Regions from separate parts of the Homo sapiens genome. Here region 1 is linked to region 2. The links are contacts of gene promoters, found by promoter capture Hi-C in blood cells and fetal thymus (Javierre and others, 2016). All regions are on one chromosome and are shown on one strand. The core of a region is centred on a gene start or on the middle of the fragment in contact, and the rest is flanking DNA. Distances in the headings are between cores, read along the strand shown. Region 1 holds the start of GJD3 (gap junction protein delta 3). Region 2 holds the start of CCR7 (C-C motif chemokine receptor 7).

Region 1 (4,127 bases), core at 120-2,619, 200 kb after region 2:
TGTAATCCCAGCACTTTGGGAGGCCGAGGCAGGTGGATCACCTGAGGTCAGGATTTCGAGACCAGCCTGACCAACATGGAGAGATCCTGTCTCTATTAAAAATACAAAATTAGCTGGGCATGGTGGCACATGCCTGTAATCCCAGCTATTCAGGAGGCTGAGGCAGGAGAATCGCTTGAACCCGGGAGGAGGAGGTTGCGGTGAGCTGAGATCACACCACTGCACTCCAGCCTGGGCAACAAGAGCAAAACTCTGTCTCAATAAATAAATAAATAAATAAATAATAAAATAACATGTTAGGCCGGGTGTGGTAGCTCACGCCTGTAATCCCGGCACTTTGGGAGGCTGAGATAGGCGGATTGTTTGAGGTCAAGAGTTCGAGATCAGCCTGGTCAACATGGCGAAACCCCACCTCTACTAAAAATACAAAAATTAGCCGGGCGTGGTGGCGCACACCTGTAATCCCAGCTACTGGGGAGGCTGAGGCAGGAGAATCGCTTGAACCCGGGAGGCGGAGGTTGCATTCAGCCAAGATCATGCCACTGCACTCCAGCCTGGGCGACAGAGCTAGACTCCATCTCAAAACAAACAAATTAAAAATAAATAAATAAATAACATGTTCATTATAGTAAAGCTGGAAATAACAGAAAAGTGGGAAGGAAACCAAAGATTTTATTTAACTATCAAAGCCAGGCACTTGGGATATTTTAATGGTTTTCCATATGGGATTTTTTTTTTTTTTTTTTTTTTTGCAGGCACAAGGGTTTTTTTGGTTCTCTGTAATATGGTTGGGAATTCAATATTAAGAAGTAGAGAATCCCAGCTACTCAGGAGGCTAAGGTGTGAGGATCACTTGAAGCCAGGAGTTCAAGATCGACCTGGGCTATGTAGAGAGACCCCGTTCCAAAAAAGATGTAAAGCTGGAAGGAAACTTGGGGGTCAGCTGGACTGGCCGCCTTTGTTGACAAGGCAGGAAAGCCTGGCTCAGTACCGCCGAATGATTTGTCCAAGGTGAGCGGTGGCAGAGCTGGAACCAGAAGCTGTTAGATGTTTGCTGCCCCTTAAACTCCAGCACCAAACCTCCCTCTGTCCCCGAAGACCATCTTCACAGGGCATGGTTAGTGCGTAGTGGATCTAGGCTCCAGACTGAGGGTCTGTCTGGGAAGGGCTTCTAGGAATCCCCCAGCTTCCTCGATAAAGGATGTGGCTCTGGTTACCCCCCTCCCCCATTTCCAGATGGAAATTTAGCTAAAGAGTGAGGGCCACAGAGCCCAGCAAGGGGCGTGGTCCGTGCCTGTTCCCAAGGGCGGAGCCAGCCAGCAGGGTCACCCTGTTCCTTTAAGAGAAGGGGGAGCGCTAGCCCCTCTCAGCCATCCTGTCCTGTCCTCCATCCTGGCCAAATCCGAAAGGGAAAATGAAAGAGGGAGCAGGAGGCGCCGGTCCCAGCCACCTCCCAAGGTCCCTGGCTCAGCTCTGACACCCCAGTCCCGGCCCCAGGGTGAGTGGGGTTGGGTGGCGGTTTAGGGGCACCAGGGGCGTGTGGGGACCTGTGTAAGTGTGGGGTGGGGAGGATCTCAGGAGATGTGGAGGCTGGAGGCACAGGAGGCCAGGGAGGAGGGAGAAGCCTGGCGTCGCACTCCCACCACGCTGGGGTAGGAGGGCAGGGACACCTCCGACAAAGGACCCTGTGAGAGTTATGAAAGCGGAGTTGCCTCTGTACCAGCCCCCCACCCTGAGAGGAGTTCACTGCAGTAAAAATGGTGAGAGAAATGGTGGGCCAAGAAAGGAGTGGTCTCGCTGCCTCTGCCACTCCCACTCCTCCCATGGGCACCAAATTGGGTCTAGCGTCTCGGGTTCGAGGCTCCACTCTTCCCACAGCATCCTTGACAGCTAAGGGCACCGCTGGGTTTCCGCTTCCGAAACCAGGCAAGTCAGGGGCTGGTCCAGCTGATCTCCAAGGTCCTTCCTAAGAATCTGGGATCTGGAGGATCCCAGGGTCGAACGGAGACGGCTCAGGGGGTGCGGCTAAAATGCAAATGGGGGATCCTCCCCAGCACCCATCGGTCCCAAAGAGAAGGTAACCCATAGCTGAGCGTCGCCTGCTCCCCTCGGGCCCTCCCGTGGCCCTCCGTTTCATACTGGTCTCATCGCTAAACCCGGGCCTCTCCTACCTCACGACTCACCCTGAAGTCAGAGAAGGTCCAACGGACCCCACCCCGATAGGCTTGGAAGGGGCAGGGGTCCCTGACTTGCCCCATCCCCTGACTCCCCGCCCCGCGTCCCCAGCGCCATGGGGGAGTGGGCGTTCCTGGGCTCGCTGCTGGACGCCGTGCAGCTGCAGTCGCCGCTCGTGGGCCGCCTCTGGCTGGTGGTCATGCTGATCTTCCGCATCCTGGTGCTGGCCACGGTGGGCGGCGCCGTGTTCGAGGACGAGCAAGAGGAGTTCGTGTGCAACACGCTGCAGCCGGGCTGTCGCCAGACCTGCTACGACCGCGCCTTCCCGGTCTCCCACTACCGCTTCTGGCTCTTCCACATCCTGCTGCTCTCGGCGCCCCCGGTGCTGTTCGTCGTCTACTCCATGCACCGGGCAGGCAAGGAGGCGGGCGGCGCTGAGGCGGCGGCGCAGTGCGCCCCCGGACTGCCCGAGGCCCAGTGCGCGCCGTGCGCCCTGCGCGCCCGCCGCGCGCGCCGCTGCTACCTGCTGAGCGTGGCGCTGCGCCTGCTGGCCGAGCTGACCTTCCTGGGCGGCCAGGCGCTGCTCTACGGCTTCCGCGTGGCCCCGCACTTCGCGTGCGCCGGTCCGCCCTGCCCGCACACGGTCGACTGCTTCGTGAGCCGGCCCACCGAGAAGACCGTCTTCGTGCTCTTCTATTTCGCGGTGGGGCTGCTGTCGGCGCTGCTCAGCGTAGCCGAGCTGGGCCACCTGCTCTGGAAGGGCCGCCCGCGCGCCGGGGAGCGTGACAACCGCTGCAACCGTGCACACGAAGAGGCGCAGAAGCTGCTCCCGCCGCCGCCGCCGCCACCTCCGCCACCGGCCCTGCCCTCCCGGCGCCCCGGCCCCGAGCCGTGCGCCCCGCCGGCCTATGCGCACCCGGCGCCGGCCAGCCTCCGCGAGTGCGGCAGCGGCCGCGGCAAGGCGTCACCGGCCACCGGCCGCCGAGATCTGGCCATCTAGGGGCGGGCACCGCCTCGCGCGGACTGGACGGCGAGGGCCGGACCCCGCCACCTCCGCCCGCACCGCAGAAGCCGGAAGCTGCTTCCACCAGAGCTGTCGCGGGACCTGCCCCGGCAGGAGACGCGTTGTGGGGACGGCCCGCGGGCGGCATCGCACTTGCCTCGTACTGCCTCCCAGTGGCTGCCGGCGGCACCTGGGGCAGGCCGGGCTGGGGGCGGAGAATGAACTCAGGCAGGTCCTGGATGCCACCACCCAGGTGGAAAGGAAGGAGACCAGGACCCTGAGAGAGAGTGGACCCGAGGGGGAGAACAGAGCGGAAGGTGGAGAGTGGTTGTTTTACTGGGGACAAAAACAACTGTGATGCCAGCATTCTCAGGCACTCTCTGTGTTCAGAGAGAGAGTGGTCCCCCTGTGGGCTCTCTGCGAGTGTGCATACACGGACACATAAGCACTGTGAGCTGTGTGCACGCGCACCTGTACACCCTGTGTGAGCGCTGTGCATGTGCGCGCATGTGTACACCCTGCGTGAGGCCCACTTGTGCACACAGACACACGTAACCCTCCCGGGTGAGCTGTGTGCACATGCACACAGAAACATATGCCCCTTGAGAGCTGTGTACTCACATCCCTGTGAGCTTTGTGTGAGTGCATTGTGCACACACGCACATGTCCATTCTGTGTGGGCTGCGTGTGCACACCTGTACACAGAAACATCCTTGTGCGCTATGTGTGCATGTGTACATCCGGCGTGACCTCTGTGTGTGCACGCGTGTGTGTGTGATCTCTGATATGCACTGCGGGGGTGGCCAGGATCCGATGCCAGCTGCAGCCACAATGGCTCCCTCCCTACCACCCTAACCCAGCCCACCTGCCAGGGCATCACAGGAGGTCTGTCCCCCCCTCCCAAGAGACCCCGCCCAGGGAGGGAAGAGGAGGAGAGGCTCCCTTTCCC
Region 2 (4,398 bases), core at 621-3,120:
GCCTTTGTGCTTCAAAGGACGCTATCAAGAAAGTGAAAAGATGATCCATAGTAAGGGAGAAAATATTTACAGATATGTATCAGATAAGGGATTGTAACCAGAATATATAAAGAAGTCTTACAACTCAATAATAAAAAATAAATAACCCAATTTTTTAAATGGGCAAAGGATTTGAATAGAAATTTCTCAAAAAATAATACAAATGGTCAATAAGAGCATGAAAAGATGCTCAGCATAGGTAGTCATTAGGAAAACGCATATCAAAACTACAAAGAGGCCGGGCATGGTGGCTCATGCCTGCAATCCCAGCACTTTGGGAGGCCGAGGCTGGCAGATCACCTTAGGTTAGGAGTTTGAGACCAGCTTGGCCAACATGGTGAAACCCCGTTTCTACTAAAAATACAAAAATTAGCCAGGCATGGTGGCACGTGCCTGTAGTCCCAGCTACTTGGGAGGCTGAGGCAGGAGAATCACTTGAACCCAGGAGGTGGAGACTGCAGTAAGCCAAGATCGTGCCACTGCACTCCAGCCTGTGCAACAGAGTAAGACTCCATCTCCAAAAAAAAAAAAGAAAAAAGAAAAAAAACACAATGAGATACCACTTTACAGCCACTAGGATGGCTAGAATCAAAAGAATGGACAATAGTAAGTTTTGTTGACAATGTGGAACCCTCACGCATTGTTGATGGGAACAAAATGGTGTAGTCACTTTGGAAAACAGTTTGATAGTTCGTCAAAATGTTAAATATATAATTACCATATGACTCAACAATTTCACTTCTAGGTATATACCCAAGAGAAATAAAGCATATGTCCACACAAACACTTGCACATAAATATTTATAGCAGCATCATTCATAATAGCTAAAAGGGAAAACAGCCCAAACATCCAACTGATGACAGACAAACAAAATGTGGCATATCCATACAATGGAATGTTATTCAGCCATAAAAAGGAATGGGGAATGGATCCATACCACCACATAGGTAACCTTGAAAACACTAACTGAAAGAAGCCAGATGTGAAGGTCACATATTGATACTTCTATTTATGTGAAATGTTCAGAATAGGAAAATCTATAGAGCCAGAAAGTAGATTTGTGGTTGCCAGGGGCTTTCGATGACAGGAGGGGAGGGGAGCAGTCATTGCTAGTGATTACAGGGTTCTTGAGAGGGAGTGAGAAAAAATGTTCTAAAATGTATTGTGGTGATGGTTGCATAACTCTGTGAACATACAAAAACCATTGAATTCTATACTTTAAAAAGGTAAATTTTATGGGATGTGGATTATAGCTCAATAAAGCTGTCATTAAGAAAGGAAAAGGAAGGGAGGGGAGAAGAGGGAAAGGGGAGGGAGGGGAGGGGAGGGGAAGGGGGGAGAAAAAAGATACATCGTGGCATATCTCTTCCCTTTTACCTGTCATTATGTGTCAGTGCCTCCCATTGGCCTAAACTACCCAGAAGCCAGAGGGAAAGCCATTTGGGACTATATTCCACTGTGACACTGAGCAGAGCAAGGGAAGGATGGGGACACTTCTCTCACACATCTCTGACTCCCCAACATCTAACCCATGGCCTGGCATGTGATATTCATGCTATAAATATTTGTTGAATCAGTAAATGGCCCCTCATCTAGATTCTGCCAGGCAGCGCAGGGGGCTTTTTGAATGTAAATGACCTAATGATTCAGGATCCTATGACCAGCGACTGTCACCCTCTGTCACCTTTCTTCTGCCCCTTTATCTCTGAAGGCATTGAAGGGGCCCTGCATGAGTCAGGGAGGGCTGGGGGGAGGAGCAAGGGTGGGAGGGGCAGGGAAGAGGGTGGCTTCTCCGACAACTTAAAAGGGGCTTGAACCACTTCCTCCCCAGACAGGGGTAGTGCGAGGCCGGGCACAGCCTTCCTGTGTGGTTTTACCGCCCAGAGAGCGTCATGGACCTGGGTGAGTGAGCCTCTTCATGTGAGAAGGAACAGTACCAGGGTCTTGGACACCCAGACTGACCCTGTGGAATGGGGGTGGAGGATGCGGGTGGAGCGCATAGGGGTGCTTCCTGGAGAAATCAGTTCTGATTTGGTGGGCATTGGAAGCTACTTCCAGAGAATGCCCCCTGCTGTCCCAGGAGGGGTGCACCTGCCCTTTCAGACCTGGAGAAGGGGTCAGCCTTTGGTGCCAGTGGGGACAAGGGAGGGGCCGAGATCATGTCTTTCTAAAACAGCAGGGACATAAGAGAGTGGCGGGGCTGGGCTTGGTGGTCTGGCAGAACCTGTTCTCATCATGAGGGTGATAGGTTAGGCCCTCTGGGACCTCTGGGGACAGGTTTCAACAGAGAAATTCTCCCTAGAGAGCTTAGGACCTTTTACCCACTCTCTGATTCCCACCTTTCTCCCCTGCCAAATATTCATATACCTGTCCACTTGGGGTCATGAGGAGATGCAAATGAAACGTGACTGGGTTGTGAGAATGGTGCGGTGCATTGCAAATGCAAGCTCTGGTTGCTTTCTCTCTGCTGCACATCCCACCTGCTTTGATCTGGCTTTGCTGTTGCCTCTTGCAAGTTAAGGAACGGGCAGGCAACATGGAATGGGATGGCAAGGGGCACTCAGCTTGGAGAAATCATAGCCAGGCCTTCAGCACAGCCCCTGCCCCTGAGCAAACCTCACGCACTCTGCCCCGGCAGATAACTCTACTCTTTAGAAAGCCCTTTCTCAGGTCTAACCTAGAAGGGGTCAAGGGGAAGCACTGAGGGTGTTCTGAGTGGTTCATCCAGCTCCAGACGCCCCCTTTATAAATCTCAGCTGTGGAGTCAGACCAGGCTGAGGCTAAGAAGACCAGGTTCCTAGATGGCTTGTCTCACCAGCAAACAATGCACCACGGCGGCCTCAAAGCCGCAAAGGGTTGGCTTTAAAAAGTGAAGGTTCCCTGGTGCTGTCCTCACACCCCTCCTCGCCACACCACAGCCTCCTTGATTTCATCTCTTACTTTCCCGCCTGCCCTGAACGCTGGATCTGGACCCAGCAAACAGCTGTGAAAGGGTTAAAGTGGTCACCCCACCCACTGACTGTGAACTCCTGAAAGGCAGGTTCAGGTGCTTTGAGGATGTGAGGAGAAAATGTCTGCGGAATGAATGAATACACCGTATCAAGAACTCCGTAGAGTTTAGTTTTTGAAAATCTCTTCCAAATGCCTCATTTCCCAGCCAATCTACCCTTAAATCCCACTCCCCTGCACCCCCTCCACCACCCCCCATCACAATCCCACAGTACAGACGTCACCCACAGAAGACCCTGCTCCAGCCTTTCATACTGGCCTCCAGGAAGGAAACCAAGCAGTGCCCAGTGGTGTGCTACTGGGCATTTGAAAAGCAGCTCCCCGGGGTGGAGCACTGGTAGCTGACTCCAGGGTGGAGGGAAAGTCCTGAATTTGTAGTGCTTGCCAATTTCCATGGTGTAAATTCTCCCACCCTGGCTGATTGATTTCAAGCCATCTACATGACTGAACAGGGGGTTGGGAAGATGTGCAGAGTGTCTTACCCCAGACTAGGTTTAGGGGTGCTAGACTCCTAGGCTTTGATGCAGGGAGAGAGGGTAATCTCTGGTCCAGGAAGAAGGGATATTCTTGCCACTTCACTCAACTTGAGAGAGCCCCAACGGTCAAACCCGAAATACTGGTAGGAGGGGAAGCCGCTGACAAGCTTTACTCAAAACGGGCTCTCTGGGCCGTTGATGGGGTGGGTGGGCCTTGGAGGATCTGTTGTTCTGCTCTTCATCTGCCCAGCAAGGAGCAAGAGGTGGGTGAGGAGGGAGGGTTTCTGTTACACAAAATGAAAACTCCCAAGCAGGGCTGAGCTGGCCTTTTTCACGGTTTGAATGAGCAGCTCTGAGGCACCCTCCCCACCTTCGAGCAATGAGACCGAAGATCTTTCATAATTCTCAAAAGCAAAGCAAGGAAAAAATGAACCCATGAGAGATGTGTGCCTCACAGCTCGGACATAAATGGTGGCAAAGGGGGATGCTGAAGCTAATTCAGGGCCAGTTTCTTGCCTGCCAGAAACTTGGCTGGGGAGGAGAGGAACGCTGCAGCCTGGGGTCGCTGTTGGAAAAAATCTCTCCTCTTTGCTTCGGACATTCAGGCAACTCTCATTGTTTGAGGGATTCAGGGATGACCAGTCTGGTGGGGAGAGTGACACATATGTCACAAAGCCACTGCAACAGAATAAGATACAGCATTGACCAGGGCAAGGGCAAGACAAGAAGGGAATAGTGAACCTGGGTCAGAGAGGTATTTAAGGTGGGTTTTCAAGGGTGTGTAGGAGTTGTCAAGCCCAACAAGGAGCTGCAATGGGCCCAGGATGTGGCAGGAATGGCAAACTCCATTGCCATCAGAGGCCGACAAGGTAA

Evidence for each region. The method cuts DNA at HindIII sites, captures the fragments that hold promoters and counts their contacts. A CHiCAGO score of 5 or more calls a contact.
Region 1: a contact is called between the fragment with the promoter of GJD3 here and the fragment with the promoter of CCR7 in region 2, in 15 of 17 cell types (megakaryocytes, fetal thymus, erythroblasts and 12 more). The highest score is 16.3, in megakaryocytes.

The regions. Positions count from the first base shown.
Region 1 is chr17:40,361,979-40,366,105 of GRCh38, reverse strand. GJD3 (gap junction protein delta 3) reads left to right here and starts at 1,369. Exons shown (of 1, transcript NM_152219.4): 1 at 1,369-4,127. The coding sequence starts at 2,291. The coding sequence ends at 3,175. It overlaps GJD3-AS1 (GJD3 antisense RNA 1), which reads right to left and starts at 3,261. Exons shown (of 1, transcript NR_186704.1): 1 at 671-3,261. RefSeq lists silencers at 2,918-3,027, 3,058-3,137, 3,258-3,327 and an enhancer at 3,155-3,449. The HindIII fragment of the contact is 7,280 bases long and covers 1-4,127 here.
Region 2 is chr17:40,562,944-40,567,341 of GRCh38, reverse strand. It overlaps CCR7 (C-C motif chemokine receptor 7), which reads left to right and starts at 1,870. Exons shown (of 3, transcript NM_001838.4): 1 at 1,870-1,942. The coding sequence starts at 1,933. RefSeq lists an enhancer at 2,315-3,231. The HindIII fragment of the contact is 7,070 bases long and covers 1-3,694 here.